3 separate regions of the Homo sapiens genome follow, and regions 1 and 2 are each linked to region 3. Evidence: promoter capture Hi-C in human tissues and cell types (Jung and others, 2019). All regions are on one chromosome and are shown on one strand. The core of a region is centred on a gene start or on the middle of the fragment in contact, and the rest is flanking DNA. Distances in the headings are between cores, read along the strand shown. Region 1 has its middle 43 kb from the start of BRINP3-DT. Region 2 overlaps BRINP3 (BMP/retinoic acid inducible neural specific 3). Region 3 holds the start of BRINP3 (BMP/retinoic acid inducible neural specific 3).

Region 1 (2,712 bases), core at 203-2,702, 43 kb before region 3:
ATAGAGCTCAGTGGATATAAAAACTCACTTAGGGTAAAGCACGTGGGTGAACAACATCTTTCAGAGTAGTACATTTTAGAATCTAATTATAACATAGATATAACATTCTTAAATAAACAGATCGTGATTACTAGAAATTCTGTTTATCTTCATTGTTATACTGTCACTTTTCATTCAACATTATTAAGAAATCATTGTAGGAAAGAGAGTTTTGTGAACTACTACTAAAAATAGTGATAAGTCAGCCAATTAAATTCTAGAAATATGTTTCTACAATTTTTCTTTGAAATACTAAGATTGATTAGACATTTTAATATACACCTATTAAATTAGCTCTATCCTAACTTTCAAAATGAACACAAATCTTTCCACTGAAATTTCTCCAGTGTCTGGAAATAAATTTAATTTTTTATTGTTAATGTAATCATCTGTAGTTACTCTTCAAGTGGTTATAACATTATTTTAGACTGGTAATTCATAAAACTCTTAAGCGTATTAGAAAAGGAATTAAGATATTGTTCTATCTAGGTCACGTTCTTCAAATAAGGCTGTATCTAAATAACTATTTAGATGTTTCTAAATAGTCTAATATCTATCTAGTCTAATGTCTATGTAAAACAAAAACTTTTCCACTGCATTCAATCTATTCTATAAATAACAGAGATATATATTTGTGTATAAAATATATATGTATATTTATGTGTGCATAACATATATACACATATTTTATGTGTGTATAAAATATATACACATATTTTATATGTGTGTAGGATATGTATACATGTATACATTTGTGTATATGTGTATATGTCTTAAATATATGTTTATATATTTTATACACACACATGCATACACACACACACACACACACACACACATATACTTTAGCCTCTCCAGCAGCCATTTTGGATTATAGATATTTCTATGGCCCAAAATATGTATTTTAGAGAAAAAGATGGATAACTCTCTGATTTATTTTAGGAATCCACTTTTATCAGAACAAAGAGTATGTGTCTATTCGTATTTTTTAAACTGCCTCTGTTTCCCAGAACCCTGCTGCTACAATTAGAGGCTGAATACTTATGTAGAGTGGGAGAACCAGACTCTTTTTCACTACCAGTTCATAGCTAGACTAATCAGCTGTATGCCTGGAGTTTCTGGTTCATCTTCCCACTGAAGACTTGGATGCAGAATCACACTGTAGGTTATAGGGTTTATGATCTAACATGGTTGCTGGAGAGGCTGGATGAGACAATCTGAGAGGATGGTAAAATTGGGAGCTTATGGAAAAAACCTTGGAGAAGGAGAGGAAGGGCAAGTAGGAGCCAGGCAGATAAATATGCCTTAATCCATTTACTTTGTGCTGCAATGAGAAAGAGTTTCTCCTTGAAGATTTTTAGGAGAAGTCCCAAGTGTCCAGTAAGAGCTGTTGGAATAGCTTGCTCTATTTGTTTCAGACTTGTGTAAAATCAGTTGCTAACATGGCAATGCATTATTTCCATTGCAGCATAACTTTCTTGCCCCTATTGGTTTCCTTCTATTCTTATTACCTCATTTTTGCACCTTATAATAAGATACCCTTTCTTTGATTCTTTTCTTAGGTTCTTTTTTTTTTTTTTTTTTTTATGGAGGATTCAGGATAAGTCACCAGGGCTTAAAATAAGAGAAGAAGAAAAATGATAAGTTTAATGGATTTAAACACATAATCCCAAATTTTTCTTTTAATTTAAGCTATGGACAATTAAATACTCAAAAACAGCCAAAAAATGTATAGAGACTTGCAACATCACATACCAAAATCTAAGCCACTGTAATCAAATCATTATATTTTTGTATAGATATAAGAAAGATTACTCATAATCTAGGAATATATATTAATATATTTTAATTAATGATGAAGGTGGAATTTTAAGTGAAATTTAAAAAGTTTTAGTTGATACATGTGATTAGTGGGTGCCAATCAAGAAGAAAGTAAAGGCAAATTCCTATCTCACACTATAATTTTTGAAAAAATCCATAATTACTTACAGTATTAATAATTAAAATTTATAAGGACACCTAGGAGACTACATGTACAATATGAGGATAAGGAAGATCTTCCTATCTTACAAGCAATAAATAAAAAATAGATATTTATGCTATATTAAAAATCAAAATTTTTATGACAAGATTTGGAAATAATCCAACATAGATCATAAATAGCTAATATTCATAAAGCAGAGTTTAAAATAAAAATAAACATTTTGAAACATTTAAAAAACATTTTGAAACTTGAAAAGGAATATCAACATTTACAGAAAATATAAAATTTATTAACGGTTCAGTCTTGTGTTGCTTAATGACAGAGATATATTCTGAGAAATGCGTGGGTAGGCAATTTCTTTGTTGTGCGAACCTCATAGAGCGTCCTTACACAGACTTAGATGGTATAGCCTATCACACACCTAGGCTGTATACACCTGTTGCTCCTAGGCTACAGACCTTTACAAGCTGTTTTTTTTGTTTTGTTTTGTTTTGTTTGAGACAGAGTCTCGCTCTGTCACCCAGGCTGGAGTACAGTGGCGCGATCTCAGCTCATTGCAAGCTCCGCCTCCCGCGTTCATGCCATTCTCCTGCCTCAGGGACTCCCAAGTAGCTGGGACTACAGGCTCCCACCACCACTCCCGGCTAATTTTTTGCATTTTTAGTAGAGACGGGTTTCACCATATTAGG
Region 2 (2,700 bases), core at 178-2,677, 45 kb after region 3:
GGCTGCAGTGAGTCGAGATCTGGCCACTGCACTTCAGCCTGGGTGAGGGAACAAGACTTCATCTCAAAATAAATAAATAAATAAAAATAAATAAATAAATAACCATTTCTTTAGGTGAAACTAATGTTTGCTGGTAAAACAAAAAGACATGGTTATTTTACTCTGTCAATATTACTCCTAGTGTGGTCTTTACTACTCATATTAGTTATAATTTTTAACCAAAGTAACTAATTTCGCAGAAAACCGGGGTGGGGATAATAGAGAACTTTCTGTAGCTCATATTTTAGCAGACTAGAAATGCTCAAGAACACATATAATTCAACTTTTTACAGCACACACATCTTTTTCTCACCTTTATAAGTGGCAAAAATTTAACATGTTAATTAGCATGACCAAAACTTATAGCCTTTATATTGTAAACAAAAATTAAAAAGTATATGAAGGAGCAATTACAAGATTGATTTCTACTTTTCAGAAAATTGCAGGTCAGAAGACAATGGAACGAGGTAGATAGGTAGATAGCATAATAATTTCAGATTGTGACCATTGCTGCTAGGGGAATAAGGAGAACTGAAAGGGGAAAACAGAAGGGAAGTAATAGGAATAGAAATGGGTCTAAAAAGGGTTATAGTAAGAGATGGTATCTCTGAAAAGGTGATACTGAACTGAGGCCTGGAATATGAGGTTGGGCCATATAAATGCTGAAAGGGAAGAAAACACATTCCAGGCAAAGAAAATAGCAGAATCACTCATCAGAAAAAGGACTTGGAAGACAAGTAACATGATGTTAGAGGGTGTTAATCTTAGATGAGGTTAATAAGAACCCAGAAAGTAGATCGTAGAGGCTTTCAATGCCACAGTTAAGTTCAGGTATTATTCCAAATGCAGTGGGAGATCATTGAAAGTTTATAATCAGAGTATAATTGATTGATCTGTATACTTCTTAAAAGGTTCCTTGACAGTCTGAAGAGAATGGATTACAGAGCAAATAATAGCAGAAAGAAGAGAGCAGTTGCAATATTTGCAGTGGTCTATGAAAAGTAGGTGAAGATGTGGACAGGGGTCCATAAAACAAAACTAAAAACTTCCACCTTCTTTAATTCTAATTTGGAACAATATTCCGAACTACTCAGTTCGTTAATGATAACTAGGTTAATGAAACAATGTATTCTAAAATAGATTTTTTTGGTCTCTATTTCTTTTCAATAAATTTAACACTATAATTGATATATGTTTATGAAACATCTTATAAACTATGTATTTTTCATAAAAATTAAAAGCAAACATAGACTATGTTTATAATTGATGGATACAGACAACTAATCTTTTGCTACAGTCCCAAATAACATATATGACCATTAAGTGTGAATTTTAGGTAAATTTCAGCTTCTGGATGGTTAATCCTAAACTGTACCAGATCCATTATTTTGTTTGTTCTAATGGCAAATGCACAAATTTCCACAGATGGATTAAATTAGTATTCAGCTGAGAAACATGAAAACAGGATCATGCCTCTATTTAGTCCTGTAGACTCAGAAGCTTTAATTCAGTCCCACCTCTTAACGTGGCAGTAGAACGATAGGCAAAAGCAGAGAGTTCTTATCTTGTTCAAAAAGTATCAGCCCCGAAATGCCATGTTCTTTTATGCTGAAATTATAGACACTAAAACACACATGGTGCCTTAGAGGATGGAAATTTCAGATGGATAGATGGTTAAAGCTTAATAATTTAAAATCATGGATTTCACTTTTGTATTGTGTGATATGGCCTCTGAATATCACCATTCTTTAATGGCTCAAGGGTGAGTGGAAAATTTTGAACAAATAAGTTGCCAGCTGCATGTTATGGCCCTTAAACTAACTTATTTTAGAAATAGAAGAAATATACCTCTAAATGGCAACCAGAAATTGCATTGTTTTCAATTGGAGTAGAATTTCATGACTGCACTGTTGTGTTGAAGATGCAATTTCTGTTTTTTAGGTAAGAAAGCTATATTTACTGGGCCATAATTTGACTCATGTGAATGAAGGCAGTAGTAAAGTATGGATAGAAAGATTATGTTTTATAAAAATTATCAGGGATTTACATATTTGTTTTTTGCAGTTTTGTTTATTTCTAATGCACCATTTTTCCTATTTGTGTATATATATGAACATGTTTGTTAACGGTGTTCTCCTAGTACCTTTAGTATAGTCCTTTTAATAGCATTATTTGGTTCTTATTTTGGAGTGAAATAAATGTACATTAGAGGTCGTAAGTTTAGAAACAATTTTTTCTTATGAATTATTTCAGCATTAGAGATAAGCTTTTGAATAACATTTTCAAATAAAATGCATCATATTGCAGACTAATATTGATATCATTTGCATTATCTGGCAGAAAAACAAATACAGTGACACAGCAGAAAATTCTCTTTAAAAAAACTGTGGTTTACTTCTACGGTTTCTGAGCATGTGTGTGTTCATTTTCCCCAGGGATTTTTTTCATTTGAAGTGAAATCTTCACATTTTTCAGTTTAATAATTTATTAATATGATTATTTTAAAATAAAGAAGGCCAGGCTCACACCTGTAATCCCAGCACTTTGAGAGGCCGAGGCTGGCAGATCACTTGAGGTCAGGAGTTTGACACCAGCCTGGCCATCATAGTAAAACCCCATCTCTACTAAAAATACAAAAATTATCTGGGCATGGAAGTGCAC
Region 3 (2,700 bases), core at 118-2,617:
TACAGAGAGCAAATAAATGAATGGAGTGGGGGATGGGGCAGTGAGAAGCAATCTGTTTCTTTTTCAACCGCAGAAAATAAGATTACTTACCAAGAACATTTTTATCCAGGGCAAATGTTTATTCCCTCTATCATTCAGCGCCTCAGTCTCTGCAAGAAATCAATTTCCACTCTACCTTTCCCTCCTATTTCTAAAAAAGAGAGTGAGGCGGATAATTCTTAAGCTTCGGGGTCCGGAGGAAGATAGAGCTAGAGCGGAGGGCAAAAGACTCCCACAGCGCTCTTTATACAGATCCCAGCTCTGAGAGCGAACCCATGGGGAGGGGGCGGGGGATCATCTCTAAGGAGAGTACTCCGAGTAGGGAGGGGGATTCATTCTGCAGCCAAAATATAAATCATCTACAAACAGATTACTAGCCTCTCAGTCACACAGGCAGTTCCCTTGGGAAACCGGTTTCAAAGAGGAAGAAGTTCCTGGAGAGAGAGAGAGAGAGAGAGAGAGGGAGGGAGAGAGAGAGAGAGAGAGAGACTGGGGTTTGGACTTGCAGAGGGAATGGGGCCAAGGAGAGGAATAGGGAGAAGGAATAAAGCTAATCTTACCGATCGATCAGGCGATCGTTTGTTCAGTATTGGGACACGAAAATGGCAAGATAATGCATTCGGCAGCAAAGCCATTTCTGGCACACTCTCTCTCAGTTACTGCAGGAATCAGAGGGGAAGCGGGCGCCTCGAAACCTACCACTTGCTCCCCAGGGACCGTCCTCAGAACCTCCAAAGCTCTAGCTTCTAATGCAAGGCGTTCGGAGCTGAGGGTTCAGGTGGAAGTCAATTGTCTTGAGTCACAGGCAGCAGGAACGCCAAAGAAGTGGGACCTGGGAGGGCTGCTGCCGCCGCTGCTGCATCTAACCACGGTTCCCCGTCCCCTTGCCTAAGCCTCACCGGCACAGCGCCCCCGAAAGCGCCTAGCGACTCGGCCTCCTCCGCATCTTCAGCCCTTCGATCACCGCCCGCACCCCCCACCCCCCACCGCCTCGTGCAAATCGCTGATGATTTGGTCATCGTAATGTGACCGGTCGTAGTGGTTTATTTGGGGAGTGGGGGAATTGGTTGTGTTGGGCTTCCTTACTACGCCTCCCTCAGTTGCTGCAAGTGAAAATGTTCAAGGGAAATACTAGTGAAATGCACTGATGGAATACTATTAATCCTAATGATAATGGTCCCAACGCAGGTAACTCTTAAAGAACTGAGAGTGGGAAGATCAGAGCAGGATTTCCGAAGTGGTGCCCTCTTGAATTCTCATTGGATCCTCCCCAGCAGCCTAAATCATTCTTGCTGCTATATCTATCAGGATGACTACAGCCTTGCTCACTAGTTCTCTCTTTATCTCGTTGTCTTCAACACATCCTTTTACTTCTCTTTGCAGATTTATCTGTATTCCACCTCCTGTTCTCTGGGGTTACACAGCTTCTGCCTTTCCCCACTGTATGGGGATGTGCAGCCTGTAAATTTTCACTTTGCTTAAGGATCACCACGAATCACCCCCCACCATTCCCCACCCCCCCATATAAAGCATTTTCACATTCTGCTTTCTTGCCTTGGGGGTTCGTGGCTCTCTGTGTAACTGGTTTTTACTTGGTTACATGCCACCAGGAACTGCTGATTATTTTAAAGTCCTACTACCCTGCAGCTCACTACTTTACCTTGATTTGGAAGATCATGGAATATCTATTTGAATCCTGGATGTATTTTTCTCACAGTCTTCTTGCTTCCTGAAATTTCCTCTGGTAAGTTATTCTCTTTATCTGTTACTAGAAACTTAACTATTGCTATTTTTAATAAGCTCTGTTTTGTTGAAGTATTTCATTTTTCACATTTTTGTTACTTTCAGAACTGAAAGATCCATATGGCCATATTTATTAATTAGTATGTTAGTGGCAACTGCACTGCTAAGACATAACCCATGTAATGTATTACCCCAATATCCCATGTATTACCCCAATATCTTTTACCTTCTTTATTTTTAAAATATTTGTCCTCATTTATATTATGGGTTACACGGACATTAATCGCCCCCACCCCCATTAACCCTTCTTGGCACACATTCCTGTGCCATTTGAAATGTCACATTTTATAGGTTTATCTAAGAGAGAGCTTAAAAGAGACCTTCTGACAATTGCAAGGTCTGGAAAGTTCGCTAGTCGGATATTCAGAAGGTTGTTCAGGTCAGCATTTGTTCATGATAAGCAATTACATGACTGAAGGAAGACTTTGTTGCAAAGTGTATTTTTATGAATTTAGCAAGACCTTAAGCACTAAAATGCCACTGAATGGTAGGAAGAGGACTGTGAGTTTTGAGGGCACCATTTTTTTTTCTTAAAATATTTCAAATCACACATAAGCACGTTATTTTAGGCATTGTATTTTAATTCAGGCATAGTATTTGTCAGTACATTTCTGATTTTGTGAATTAGCTGGTGAACAGTTAATTGGACACAGAGTACTCATTTCAGAGAGGAGCAATCAGAAGAAACCCCTGATTATCTTGGTTCTGATAAATTGAAATTCAAGAATAGACTTTACATGAAAAATTTAATTGCCTCACTCTTCATACTTGTCTGCCCCCAACCCTTGTGTTTAATAGGCATGTTAATATGGTCAGTGCCTTTTGCTTTTATGAACATTTCTATGGACTTAACTGACA

What was found. The method cuts DNA at HindIII sites, captures the fragments that hold promoters and counts their contacts. A contact is called where the count stands out against the background at its distance.
Region 1: a contact is called between a fragment that was not itself captured here and the fragment with the promoter of BRINP3 in region 3, in 3 of the 25 tissues and cell types used here (IMR-90 fibroblasts, aorta and hippocampus).
Region 2: a contact is called between a fragment that was not itself captured here and the fragment with the promoter of BRINP3 in region 3, in 2 of the 25 tissues and cell types used here (dorsolateral prefrontal cortex and hippocampus).

The regions. Positions count from the first base shown.
Region 1 is chr1:190,519,731-190,522,442 of GRCh38, reverse strand. No RefSeq gene overlaps it. Among named protein-coding and RNA genes, the nearest start is that of BRINP3-DT, 43 kb to the right of the region's middle. The HindIII fragment of the contact is 4,269 bases long and covers 1-2,712 here.
Region 2 is chr1:190,431,502-190,434,201 of GRCh38, reverse strand. The region is part of intron 2 of BRINP3 (BMP/retinoic acid inducible neural specific 3); the gene reads left to right. Among named protein-coding and RNA genes, the nearest start is that of BRINP3, 45 kb to the left of the region's middle. The HindIII fragment of the contact is 5,643 bases long and covers 1-2,700 here.
Region 3 is chr1:190,476,531-190,479,230 of GRCh38, reverse strand. It overlaps BRINP3 (BMP/retinoic acid inducible neural specific 3), which reads left to right and starts at 1,367. Exons shown (of 8, transcript NM_199051.3): 1 at 1,367-1,783. It overlaps BRINP3-DT (BRINP3 divergent transcript), which reads right to left and starts at 971. Exons shown (of 3, transcript NR_110716.1): 1 at 739-971; 2 at 91-149. The HindIII fragment of the contact is 15,526 bases long and covers 1-2,700 here.